Regions from separate parts of the Homo sapiens genome. Here region 2 is linked to region 1. Evidence: promoter capture Hi-C in 16 types of primary human blood cells and fetal thymus (Javierre and others, 2016). All regions are on one chromosome and are shown on one strand. The core of a region is centred on a gene start or on the middle of the fragment in contact, and the rest is flanking DNA. Distances in the headings are between cores, read along the strand shown. Region 1 holds the start of MLLT3 (MLLT3 super elongation complex subunit). Region 2 overlaps LOC105375988 (a long non-coding RNA gene).

Evidence for each region. The method cuts DNA at HindIII sites, captures the fragments that hold promoters and counts their contacts. A CHiCAGO score of 5 or more calls a contact.
Region 2: a contact is called between a fragment that was not itself captured here and the fragment with the promoter of MLLT3 in region 1, in 1 of 17 cell types (M0 macrophages). The highest score is 5.3, in M0 macrophages.

The regions. Positions count from the first base shown.
Region 1 is chr9:20,620,802-20,624,567 of GRCh38, reverse strand. It overlaps MLLT3 (MLLT3 super elongation complex subunit), which reads left to right and starts at 2,069. Exons shown (of 11, transcript NM_004529.4): 1 at 2,069-2,323; 2 at 3,734-3,766. The coding sequence starts at 2,312. RefSeq lists silencers at 1,471-1,610, 1,631-2,090, 2,511-2,660, 2,731-2,780 and an enhancer at 3,711-3,766. The HindIII fragment of the contact is 2,564 bases long and covers 1,333-3,766 here.
Region 2 is chr9:19,495,750-19,499,515 of GRCh38, reverse strand. All of the region lies in intron 4 of LOC105375988 (a long non-coding RNA gene), which reads right to left. Among named protein-coding and RNA genes, the nearest start is that of MAP1LC3BP1, 34 kb to the right of the region's middle. The HindIII fragment of the contact is 843 bases long and covers 1,522-2,364 here.

The DNA.
Region 1 (3,766 bases), core at 820-3,319:
TACAAAGGACTGCTCTCAAATTTGATTATTTTATGAAAAGTTTAATAATGCACAATAAATAGGTCCCCCCTTCACGTAGATACTACCCACACAGCTTGTCTCTGCGAATATAAACGTAGTCCTTGTACATACATACAGACACAGCGACGCATATACCTACAGGATGATATGCAGTTATGTATATGTGTGTCAGTTGACAAATCTAAGCCCTTGGATTTAGATTAAAATGTTTCTACCTTCAGTCGTTTGCTCCATTCTATGCTAAATCCTGTAGAAGGCTGGGAAGAACTGGGGACCTCAAGCCAAAGAAGTTTCTTGATTATAACTGACAGGCAGCGGAATATCAGTTTTAGGGAATCAAAAGTTGAGTTGGAAGGCTGCTGGTTTGGAAACTAAGGTTGGTTCCAAGTGGTCCGACCTGATTCCCAGGATCTTTGTGAGAGCTGCTGGGAGAACTGAAAATTAACAGCGAGGACACAGGACGCCCTAGGTAACGTCCTCCCCGCTATTCTGCTCTTCTCAATTCAAGGGCCGAGACAACTTGCTTTTGTGGAAAAGGGAAGTAAAGGGAAAAGAGGAAAGCAAGGAAGTTCAGTCAGAAAGAGGAAGAGGGACAAAGAGGAAAGAAAGGGACAAAGAGGAAAGAAAGGGACAAAGAGGAAAGAAAGAGGGACAAAGAGGAAAGGCAAGGAGAAGAGAAGGAAAAATCAAGGTTCAGCAAGAAGTTGGAAGGCGAGGGAAAAAGGGGAGTAAAGAGAAGGCAAAAGAGGTCTAAGGGCTAGGAAGATGCAAGGATCTTTTTTTAACGAACCAAAGTCACATCCATCTTTCACTTTCAAATCAATCGTCTAGATCTTATCCGTTTCCTTTTTAAAGGTTATCTGCGTCTGTAAAGGAAGCCAGTAGTTGATACTCCTCTCCGCGCCCCACGCGTGGCCGCGCTGTTCTATCTCCGGCCACTGAGATCAAATACAACGCGAGTGAGAACATTTGCAGAGGCGCGACTCTGGGAACACTCCTGCGACTGGCTGTCACCCGGGAGTCTAACCGGATTAATACTCAGAGATGGATTACGCTGGTTGTCACCAATACGCCTAAAGATTATAATCCAATTTACGCACATTACAGTCAGTATTAACTTTATCTGCTATTTTAAGACTCCCGGTTGCCCCGCGCGTCCTCAGAGGACAATCCTCCACGTTCTGATGCAACTCAGTAGGCTGTCAGGAGGGGAAGCCCCCCGAAGAAAACAACTCCAAGCCTGGTCCCCGAGGGTCTGTACCCGGCACTCCCAGGTGTCTTGCTTTCACCTGGGCACCGCTTTATGAAGCTTCCCAGCCGGGGATTACCAAAGCGGAAGGCGTTCCCTTGCAAGGAAATAGCATCCTTGTTTCTCCCTTGTTCATTTCATTTTCAAATTTTCGGTGGCGGTGGCAGAAGGGCGGGGAGTGAGGGTGGCGGGCGGGTGCCTGTGAGTGGATGGGGCAGGGGGCCAGGGGATCGTTGCGGGTTAGAACAGCCTCAGTCATTGCTATTTTCATGCTCGTTTTTTGCAGGATGGCATTTCTCTCGCTCTCTTTAAGTAAGTTTGTTTGGGTGTGAGTTCTTGTCTTTTCAGCACAAAACCACAGAAATACGTGGTGGAAAGTAAAAGAAAGCCCACTCCCTCCTCCCCGTGCGTACTAGCTAAGGACTTGATTTAACACCCCCTCTCCGGCTGCTGAGGGCTCTAAGCAGTGGCTACATTCCAGCAGTTTTAATCCGTTTTTTATTGTAGGGCGAGCAGAGTTTACACAGGGGCTGGGATGGCTCCCCAGCTGGCCGCTCTCCCCACTCCTGCGTCCCCTCCCTGCCACCCCCCCAGCAGGAACCTGTTACTTTAAGCGAGGCTTTCCAGTGTGGCGCTGCGGGCCGCCGGGGTTTCGGGAGGTGGCAGGTGATTGGCTCTTTCGAGCTCCCCCTGGCTCGCTCGCTCTGCCTCCCCGCGCGCTCCGCCCCGCCCGCAAGCCCTCCCTCCGCCCTGTGAGGCTCGGAGCCCGGGTGTCAGGCGCCACGGCGCATGCTCCGCAATCATCTTCTTTACCCTGGAGCTGCTGCTGCTGCTGCTGCTTTTGCTTTTGGGGCTGAGTTTAATAAGCGAGCGAGCGAGCAAGCGAGCGCGGGGGGAAAAAGGCAGAGAATGTCCGCCATCTACCCTCCGCTCCTGGGCGCGCTCTCATTCATAGCAGCCTCTTCATGAATTACAGCTGAGGGGGGGCGGAGGAGGGGGGGGTACCACACAACACCCCAGCAAACCTCCGGGCCCCCAGGCATGGCTAGCTCGGTAAGTACGCGCAAAAATAATAATAAAAGCCCTCCCCCACTTTCCTTCCTCGCCCTGCGCCGCCGCAGCCCAGACAGCGCCAGCGCTCCGCGGTTCCAATTAGAGAAAGGTTGGTACGGCTTGCAGGGAGCTGCCGCCTCTCCCTCAGCCTCCGCTCCCCTCCTCCCCCACCCCCCCCCGGCGCGCACACAGACACACAGACACACACACACTCACACACGCTCACACTCGCCCCTCCACCCCCCGCGCCTCCCTCCCTCCTCGCCTCTTTGCAGTCACAAGAAGCGCACTCACACACTCCCTCTCGCTCACACGCGCGCACTCACACACACACACACACACGGTGGAAGGAGGCGAATAATAACTCAGCCATATTTCAGCCGCCGCCGCCGGGAGCTGCGGGCACAGTCCGGGGACGCGGCGAGCAGCCTCGGCGGCCGCACCTCCGCAAAGCGCCGCGGCCGCTACGATGGTGCGTTCTCCGCGGCGCGCGTGTGTGAGCCGAAGTGTGCGGGGCTGACAGCGGCGGGGCCGCACGCAACTTTGCCCCAGCGCCGGGAGGTGCTGAGCGCGAGCCGAGGCTCGGCGGCTGTCCGCCCGCCGCCCTGCCTTTCTGAATTTCATTTTTTGGGGGGAGGTGGGAGATACTTTGGAGCCACTTGGGCTCTTGAAAGTGTGTTGCGGGGGCTCGGTTCGACTGGCCTCGCCGATCGCGTGGGGCTTTTCGCTGGGGGGTGCGGGGTGCTCTAAGTTATGGATGCCTCGGCGTGTTTTCCTGCGGGCGTGTGTGTGTGTTTCAGTGTGTATGACGACGTCTCATTTTTGTTGTGCACGAACCCCGTGGCAAGAGCACGGGAGTTTGTGCCCATCAGCAGAGGCTGCCTGTAGTTTCCATTTCGCCTGGCACAGCGCTCCACACGCACGCACACACACGTACACAAAGACTTCCTCGGCGTGTGCCTGTCGCCGCGGTACTTTCGGGGAGGGGGCTCGCCAGGAGCCCTTCGGTCCCCCTGGGTCCCAGCCACCTCCCCTCCCACGCCGGGAAACCGCCCCGGCATCGCCTTCTGATTTGTTTCCGATGCATTTGTTGTCGTGCTTGTCGTGGCTGAGTGTGTTCTCCCTCTTTTCCCCGACCCCCTTCCCGACTGGGGATAACATTCCGTTACAATCCTGTCCGATGTAGATGCGGGGCCCGGGGCGCCTGGGGCCAAGCCGGGCCGGGCGGGCGGGTATATTTGGGGGTGTGGAGTGTGCGCGCCCACGCGCGTGAAACGTGGATGCAGAGGGCACCGCCGTTTCCTTTTATGTGCGTTTCAAGAAGGAGGAAAAAAATGTCAGGCGCAACGTTCACTGCCGAAACCTCGCCTTCCTGTTATTCACGGCTGTCTCTCCTCCCCCTGCCCGCAGTGTGCCGTGCAGGTGAAGCTGGAGCTGGGGCAC
Region 2 (3,766 bases), core at 694-3,193, 1.1 Mb after region 1:
ATATACCATGGAATACTATGCAGCCATAAAAAAGTATGAGTTCATGTCCTTTGCAGGGACATGGATGAAGCTGGAAACCATCATTCTCAGCAAACTGTCACAGGAACAGAAAACAAAGCACCACATGTTCTCATAAATGGGAGTTGAACAATGAGAACACATGGACACAGGGAGGAGACATCACACACTGGGGCCTGTCGGAGGGGTGGGGGGCTAGGGGAGGGATAGTATTAGGACAGATACCTAATGTAGATGTCAGGTTGATGGGTGCAGCAAACCACCATGGCACATATATACCTATGCAAAAAACCTGCACATTCTGCACATGTACCCTAGAACTTGAAGTATAATTTTAAAAAAAAGGAGCCTGTTTTAATAACGTTCTCTAGATTTTGGCCTCAACCAACGTCAAGCCAGCTGGTCTTCAGTATACTCGTGAAATATTTTTCTCCATCTTGAAGACTGTGGTTGTTTTGCTCGTCTTTGTTTTCCTCTGTACGCTGAGGGTTAACACGCAGGTGTCTGGAGCTCTCACACACAAAGTTCTCGTCTCACTACCCTTCCGGGTCATTGCCCAAGGTCTTGAGACTTACAACCACTTAAGTTGTTTCCATATAGTTTTATCATCTTATTTCCCAAATGGCTTTGTTCCCTGTTACTGATGTTGGTTTTATCTTCTTCAGGACACAAACCCTTCTCTGGACAGAGAGACAGACTTGAAATGCAAATTGAGCAGGTCTAATTGTTTTCTATCATCCTCAACTCACTTGGAAGCACCAAGTCCACTCTTCCTTATTTTTACTTTGTCTAGGTAGCCAAATTAACCTCTTGTATAGTCAGTCCTTAGCCTTTTAAAAGAAAGCATAACTCTTATTTATGGCTTTTAAATATTTCTTGAAGTTGGTGAGCAATAAATGACCTACAGAAGTACTTGGGAAACCTGATGTTAATAAAGAAGTTTTGATTAGCTTGTCAATTACTTGAATATAAAAAAATACTTCTAAATGGCTTAAAAACCCTTTTCAATTTTAATATCTTCAAAATTCCCATAGCAATTATTTATACTGACAGTTGGCTTACAAACATCTTTATCACGAATGGGTCTTTTTTAATACCACTTCCTGGTTGTCAGAAGTATCAAGTTACTGGGGTCCCCATGAATTGGGAAGTTAGGAAATAGACAGAAGTCTTGACACAAAGTGTACTATGATCAGAATCCAGACTGTTGGGAAGACTGACTTTCTGTGTCTCTCCTTATGCAACAATGTGAAAGTTATTCCATGACTCTGAATCACCAGTTTCTTGCCTATGTAATACTATTACTATATTACTACCCCCACAGGGCTGTTGGAAAGATTGAGTTATAACTCCATAAAGTGCCTGGCTTATAACAGGCTCTTAAAAGATGTTAGCTCCCTCCTCCCCACCTCATGTGACTTTGAACACTTATATAACCTCTCTAAGATTCAGAAAACCTCTAACATGAGTTCTTTGTTGGGTTATCTGAATACTTTCTAAGCTTAAAGATTACATATATCCTAATTGTCTTAGTACTCTAATAATACTACATCCATCAGAAAACCCATTGCTTCCTGGGATGCCACTGGTCTTCGTCCCCCCACCTACCCTAATCCAGCAATATACCAGGTGACCTGGGAATCTAATAGCCTGGCCTGGTTAATAAGCACATACCAAGAAGGACTTTATTTCAGTCTAAGTGGCAGGGTCATCCAGGACATTAAAAATTCTGAAGTGCACCAAAGACCTCGGAATTCCCACATCTTTTGGAGGCTGTGATGATGTATACCTACAAAAAACATACTGAAATACTGAACTACTGCCTGGTCAATTTTGCCTTTAGGGCCAACTAGAACATTAACCACACTCTGTATCTCTCTACAGGGACAGGCCTAAGATATTGCAAACCTGGAATTGATAAACACTTGGTAAATCTTGCCACTCATGATCCCTTACCCATGGGATCCCATCAGCAATGAAACACAGCACCACTTCCCACTATCCTTTCTCAGCAGAACATTCCAAGAAACTGCTACCAGCCTGTCACATTGGCATGCAAAGGAAAACCTAACTGCCATGTTCTAGTCTCTCCTGTCAGTGAGGATAATGAGAACTAAATAGGCCATTTTACTTTTCTGAGGTCACACTATGAAGCAACAGAACTGGATATTAGGGTCTGTTTTTTTCATTTTGCGAATGGTCTTTGCTGCAATAGTCAAAATGCACTGGAGGTGTTTTACATGTTAACAAGGGTGTTTTCACAGCGAGCCGTGATGCACATGGGTGTCAGGGTTGAGGATTTGCCACTCACAAGCCAGAGTATCTGAAGAACTGTGATAAAAAGCTTCTTGTTTAAAAGGCTTAGGTTAGGTCAGTAGTTAAGTTCTAGCCAGACAATGACTAATAGCAGGTTTTAATTAGTGAGAACTATGAGAAAAGAAGAGAAAGACTTTTGCTGCTGGAATTTAATAATGGAATTTCCAGTAAATAATAACAATCACCTCAAGGATCAAAAAACGTTATGCCCACATTTGATCACAAAATGGTCGGAATTTATGCACCTATCTCTGTCTGCTGGCAGAGGCTAATGACCCATGTCCTTGAAATGAATCAGGGCAGGGAAAGTTGTAAACATTCTAACTTCCCTGTTTCTTCCCAGGAGCTCACTCAAATGTGTAATCAATCTCAGTATCAGTTCCACTAGACTTCATGGGGGAAGAAAAAGAACACGTTTTTTGTGGGGAAAATAGTGCCATTCATTCTCATTGGTCTAATTCAGGGATGGTCTTCAAAAGAGCCTGAGAGATGGAAGGAAGACTGTGTCTGTGCGCAGCATCCTCAAATTCCCTGTCCATCTCTGGACTATTGCCTAGAATTTTGCCCTAGCACCTTATCTCTCCAGCTCAATGATTCTCAACCAACAGGCTGTACCTGAAGGGCACCTGAAACAATAGGAGGCTTTTTCAAACTACTTGTGTCAAACCCAGCCCCCACCACTTCCAGTTGCCCTCTCCAACCCCTCCAGTGTGTTCTTCCATGTGAGAGCCATAGACAGCCCTCCACTCAGGAAGTGGTCCATAACCCACAGCAGTGTTGGATGGAAAAAAATATTAAGAATCCGATTTAGCCTAACACCCTGATCTCTCTGGAAATTGTAACTGGCACAAGGAGTTCATCTCGAGTTTCTCCAAGTGATCGTGCAGAATGCCCTGTGTTCATTCACGCATTCAACAACAGGGATTCAACACGTGTGATGTGCCAGATACAGGGCTTAACACTGTGGCACCAGGGAACATAAGTCTCAGTCCCTGTTCTCAACCACTTCACTGTCCACAGAGGAAGACAAAATAGTGTTAGCTTGATGCAAAAGTAATTGCTGTTTTTGCCATTGAAAGTAAGGGCAAGACCAGGCCAAGCACGGTGGCTCACACCTGTAATCTCAGCATTTTGGGAGGCTGAGGCAGGTGGATTACCTGAGGTCAGGAGTTCTAAGTGGTGGATTTTTTAAATGTGATGTTTGGGAGAACAACATTGAGCATAGCTGAAAATGTAGGGACTCCTGGGAAGTGGAGAGATGTCAGCACCAGATTGCAGAGGACCTGTTCTAATCCAGGGAGTAGCATGGACCCTATCCTGCCACCAGATGTCATTCACCAGCTTGTGGCATGGTCACATTGGGACTTAAGAGAGCCTTCTGCACATACTGAAAAGAAATGGCTTGGATTTGCTTCCAAGTAATCTAGGTGTA